Regions from separate parts of the Homo sapiens genome. Here region 1 is linked to region 2. The links are contacts of gene promoters, found by promoter capture Hi-C in blood cells and fetal thymus (Javierre and others, 2016). All regions are on one chromosome and are shown on one strand. Each heading gives the region's core, a stretch centred on a gene start or on the middle of the fragment in contact. The rest is flanking DNA. Distances are from core to core; before and after follow the strand shown.

What was found. The method cuts DNA at HindIII sites, captures the fragments that hold promoters and counts their contacts. A CHiCAGO score of 5 or more calls a contact.
Region 1: the fragment with the promoter of CLC here is called in contact with the fragment with the promoter of CYP2B6 in region 2 in 4 of 17 cell types (naive B cells, neutrophils, total B cells and 1 more); the score reaches 6.8 in naive B cells.

The regions. Positions count from the first base shown.
Region 1 is chr19:39,736,685-39,739,489 of GRCh38, reverse strand. CLC (Charcot-Leyden crystal galectin) reads left to right here and starts at 1,461. Exons shown (of 4, transcript NM_001828.6): 1 at 1,461-1,552. The coding sequence starts at 1,538. The HindIII fragment of the contact is 8,050 bases long and covers 1-2,805 here.
Region 2 is chr19:40,989,995-40,992,694 of GRCh38, reverse strand. It overlaps CYP2B6 (cytochrome P450 family 2 subfamily B member 6), which reads right to left and starts at 1,413. Exons shown (of 9, transcript NM_000767.5): 1 at 1,219-1,413. The coding sequence starts at 1,389. RefSeq lists a cis regulatory region at 1,648-1,671 and promoters at 1,408-2,700, 1,374-2,700. The HindIII fragment of the contact is 6,148 bases long and covers 1,160-2,700 here.

The DNA.
Region 1 (2,805 bases), core at 212-2,711, 1.3 Mb after region 2:
CTACTTAATTAAAAACTGTACTGTAAAAAATTTCAAATGTTTGCAAAAGGAGAGAACTGTCATCCCCAGATTATTTTAGAGCAAATCCCAGATATTATATAATTTCATACACAAAACCTAAAGTTTTTCGGGGGAACAGTGTGTGCTTGGAAAGATGTAGTTGAAAAGAAAGACTGAAAGCAAGTCGTAGGGCATAATGGATTTCTGAAGAAATAGTTGCAACCAGCAGAAGTATGGGCTATTGTGCAGAGGATATGGAAGTTAAAGAAGATCAATCTCTCTGCATCACTGAAAGGATTGCTGGAATGCCTGAGAAGTAAATAACATCAACATCTTTATCCACAGCTTACTAGGTGGCCAGACGCCCTGAACTGATATTTCTTCCCCAGTTCAGATGAATAGCTGGGATATTACTCAAAATTCTATTGCATATCTGTTGCAAGGAAAAGCAGTTCCTCTTTCCCTTCTGTGGTAATTTCTTACAAGCTACAGTTCTGGGCAGGGTGTGAGGGTGGTTGCCTAGAACGGGGTTTCCAAAGCTCCTTAATTGTGGCCTCTGACCCTTTTCATTGCTTCCATGTCCATACCCAGAGTCAAAACCCAAGGAATGCAGTGGGATGACATTACAAATTAATCTTAAGGAAATACGTTATATACCAAAAGAACTGTGTGATTGTGCTGATTTATATGAGCAGAATCTTGGAGTGCATGCTTGGAAATGAATTGTCAAGGTTTTAGATCAGGGAAAGTGGAATTTATTGTCGGGTCAAGCACAACTAATATTAATGCTAATGCATCCTCATCGCTTAGCTCCCACTTATGAGTGAGAAATCTCACCTTTCTCCAAGAATCTGCAGGAGAACGACAGCCTCAGATTTTGATTCACATGAAAAGAAATAGGGAAATAAGAGGGCGTACCTAAAGCCCAGGTGTCTGAGAGACAGAGTGGGAGTGGCTCTCACCTGGCAGAGCCAAGGGATCTGAGGGTGGGTAAAGAAGACACAAGTGTTTTCTCTACTTCTGTCCCCAGGTCCTGCGAATGATCAAGATCTATGCTCTCCCAGAACCACTGGAGAAGGAGGAGGAGGATTTTCTTTCAAAGCCAAGTGCCTTGCCCCCAGGATCTCCAGCTTTTTACCATTGCACAGGTTAGGAGAACGCACACCTTCCTGGTAGATTCTGCACAGTGGAGAAAAGGCTTCATGAGAAGCATGGAGGCTGGAACTCACACCACTCATCCTCACTCCATCGTCTTTATCTGTGCATTTCCCTGGTGACCCCTTCCTCCTCCAGTACCTCCCTCACTGTCGTTTCTGCTGCATCACAGGCACAGGCCTCCAAACAGGTGTGGTTGTGACTGAGTCTGTTTCTGACACCCCACCCCTTCTCACTGTGTGAGGAAACCTTCCTGGGAGGGGCTTGGAATCAGGAATAAAGCCAGAGGCAGGGCTGATAGGGGCCATTTAAATTCTGCAGCTCAGAGATTCACACAGAAGTCTGGACACAATTCAGAAGAGCCACCCAGAAGGAGACAACAATGTCCCTGCTACCCGTGAGTTAAAAAGGCACAGCCTTCAATAATCTCAGGTCACACAGAAAAGGGAAGAGGGAGATTTTATGGGATGAAAATATGAAAATTTCTACTGTGAATGCTTTACTGAGAGTTGTGGGTGTGTGGAAGAGAGACCCTAGGGCTATGGTATCTGAGATGCTCCTGGGGTAGGGGGGTAGGGGGTGTGGATGCTGGAACATTGTGACCCTCTGTGAGCATGTGATGGTATCTGATGAGAGTAAACTCTGCTAAAAATGATGTGACTTTAGACGGGATGTGTATGGCCCTCCAGGATATGGGTGGGTGTGTAAGTGATTGTAATCAGGTGACTGTGTTTTGTCTTCATGACTGTGATGTGAGTGTGTGTGTGAGCACAGCCGGACCAGTGCATGAGCATCTTTATATGCACAGTGAGCAGGTGTGTGTGACTCAGTGAGTGGCACGGCTCTGTGTGACTGTGAGTGTGTGTGCTGGAATGTGACTGGGTGTTGAACTGGGAACATGCATGTGGCCTTCTGTGCATGTGAAGGTTCCTCCCCACATAGCAGTACTCTGTCTAACTTCCCTTGTGCATCACTGTGGATCCCCGGTGACAGAACTTGTGGGATCTTGGGGCCCTTGAGTTACCGAGGACTTATCTCTGAGCATTTATGAGAGCAGAATGCATGAATTCTCAGGTGCCTTTTCCCAAGCAGAATGGGGGTGAGAAACAGACGATGGGGCTGATGGTTCCTTAGGTGGAATCTGCACACAGTGACCACTGGCTCCTGCCTCCAGCCTCAGGTCTCTCCCTGTCTCCTACCCTAGCCTGGCCTTCCCATTGAGTGCCAGGATGCTAGAGAAGGACATTGAGGGACTTGATTTAAGAGACTGAATCACCCAAAACCAGGAAGGTACAAGGCAGAGCTTACAGTGGATATTCATCAAGATGTTTGCTGAGGCCTGTAGTCTCAGCACTTTGGGTGGCCGAATTGAAAGGCCCATGTCAGGCCAGGACTGGTAGACCAGCCTGGGAGACATAGCAAGATTTCATCTTTCCAAAAATTTAAAAATTTATTGAATGTGGTGTTGCATACCGTAGTTCCAGCTGCTGGGGGGCATATGCAAGAGGTTCACTGAAGCCCAGGCCTTCAAACCTGCAGTAATTTTTTTTTTTTTTTTTTGAGACAGAGTCTCGCTCTGTTTCCCAGGCTGGAGTGCAGTGGTGCAATCTCGGCTCACTGCAACCTCCACCTCCCGGGTTCAAGCGATTC
Region 2 (2,700 bases), core at 164-2,663:
TACAAAAATTAGCTGGGCGTGGTGGCATGCACCTGTAGTTCCAGCTACTTGGGGGGCTGAGGCAGGAGGATCACTTGAGCCTTGGGAGGTCAAGGCTGCAGTGAGACGTGATCATGCCACAGCACTTCAGCCTGGCTGACAGAGTGAGGCCCTGTCTCAGAAAAAAAAAGAGTCTTAAATGCTCATATGCAGCCATTCTTTGTACATCCAGTGGGCTCATTACAGTGGGAACAACAAAAACATGAAGAAAAGGTAAAGAATCACTCAACTACGTTGACATTGTCCATTGTGAATTCCATACTGAGAGCAGACAAGTCCATTATGATGGTGACAGAAGTAATGTTGATGCCCAAGGTTTTGGTCAATCTCAAAATTTTGAGGCTGACCAAAAGGGGAGAATTGTTTAATTAAATTAAATTTGACCTAAAGCTCTCTCTGTAGAGTGAACTGCAACCTAACTTGGGAGTATATTCTTTTTTTTTTTTTTTTTTTTGAGAAGGAGTCTCACTCTGTCACCCAGGATGGAGTGCAGTGGTAAGATTTTGGCTCACTGCAACCTCTGCCTCCTGGATTCAAGTGATTCTCCTTCCTCAGCCTCCTGGGTAGCTGAGATTACAGGCACGCATCACTATGCCCAGCTAATATTTGTATTTTTAGTAGAGACAAGGTTTCACCATGTTGGCCAGGCTGGTCTCGAACTCCTGACCTCAGGTGATCCACCACCTCGGCCTCCAAAAGCACTGGGATTACAGGCATGAGCCACTGCACCTGGCCCAAATGAATATATTCTTGTGACAAGTAGCCAAGTGTTGGCTAATCAGAGCAGCTGGGCTTTCAGTCCACACAGGCTGCAAACTGCTCAGATTGTGACCAAGTAAGGCAAGCTGTGATCTGTGGCCAATCAGGCTGTTTCTGTATGTCACCTCCTTTTTCTGCCTGTAAATACCACTTGACCATACTGCCGTGTGGTGTCTTTCCTGGTTTAGGGAGCTGTCCAACTCATGAGTCACTTCTTTGCTCAAATAAACTCTGCTAAATTTAATTTGATGCTTTTCTCCTAATAATACCACCCATCATGCTTCACCATGCTCCGTACTCACCAACCATGCCCGTGCCACCCCTGACTCTGGAAGTCTGCCTCATTCTGTTTGGTGAAGCTTCCCCAAGTACCAAGGCAAGAAGCAGCTCACCCTCAGACCCCATTCGTCTGTGTCTTACCCTCAGAAAGGATTTGAGTAGGCCTCTTCTATCCATCTGCAGAAGGTTTCCCAAAAGGGGCAGAGGGCGGGGCCCTGGTGGGAGGCGGTCATGGGTGTTAGGGTGGCGCTGAACCAGGAGTAGCAAGAGTCCTGTGAGGAGTGCAAGGAAGAGGAGGACGCTGAGTTCCATGGTCCTGGTCTGACTGCCCTGCACCCTGCTGCAGCCTCCAACTGGGCCTTTTATCCTGACCCTGCCTCTGCACCCTGTTATAAAATTTCATCCATTCCCCACCTCCTTTTTCATCATCATCCAGGAGCATTAGCTTAGAAAAAGTTGTTAGGGAACCCAGACTTCCTGCTTGGGCAACCCAGTGACCTGATGCCTATCCCTTTACCCACTCTGTAGATATTGGCAGGGATACAGTGGTAGAGATATCAAAGTCCAGGTGAGCAAGTGAATGTGTGGGTGTGTGGGTTTGTGGGTATATGTATGTCTATTTTTGTAAGCATAGGTGAGCTTGCACTTTTTTACTTAGCTTTGTCTGTTTGTCTGTGCTTGCATGCATTTGTCCATGCCTGCTTGCATCCCTGTATGTGCTTATATGATTTTTACATGTAAAGGGGTGTTTGAATTTATGCAAATGTACTGGCGTATATTTCTGTGGTTGAATCTGGGGGTGCTTATGTGTGTATCCTTGCATGTGTATGAGCTTCCTTGTATTTATACAGTTTTATATACGAAAGTGCATTTACATTTGTGTGTTGTGGAGGTGGTGGTAGTGCATGTTCAAAACTGAGAGGCTGGCTGGGTGCGGTGGCTCACACCTGTAATCCCAGCACGTTGGGAAGCTGAGGGGGGCAGATCAATTGAGGTCAAGAGTTCGAGACCATCCTGGCCCACATGGCAAAACCCCATCTGTACTAAAAACACAAAAATTAACCGGGCGTGATGGTGGGTACTTTTAATCCCAGCTACTCGGGAGGCTGAGGCAAGAGAATCACTTGAACCTGGGAGGTGGAGGCTGCAGTGAGCCAAGATTACACCACTGCACTCCAGCCTGGGTGACACAGCAATACTCCATCTCAAAAAAAAAAAAAAAAAAAAAAAAAGGAGAAGCTGATGAAAATAAGGAATTATTCAATTCAATCAAATTTGGCCTACTGCCTTTGTAGCATAGCAAACTGTAACCTAGCAATACATGAACCAATTGTGTGTATCTGTGTGTGCTGGTGTATTTGTGCTGGTGTGTTGGTGGATCTCCTAGCCCCTCTCTTTGGAAGCCTGCAGATGCTGAGTCTATCTCCAGTGTCCCCTCCTTCATCCGCCCTTCTGTGACAGCCACAGGTGGAAGTGGTCGGAGAAACAGAAGGAGGAGCAAGAGATGCAGAACTGGTGAGTCTCAGAGGAAGAGGTGGTCAGTTGGAAGGAGACAGAAACTGAGACCTGGCAGGTACAGCGATCAGGTCCTCTTGGTTTCTGATCACTCTAACTAGTGCTAAG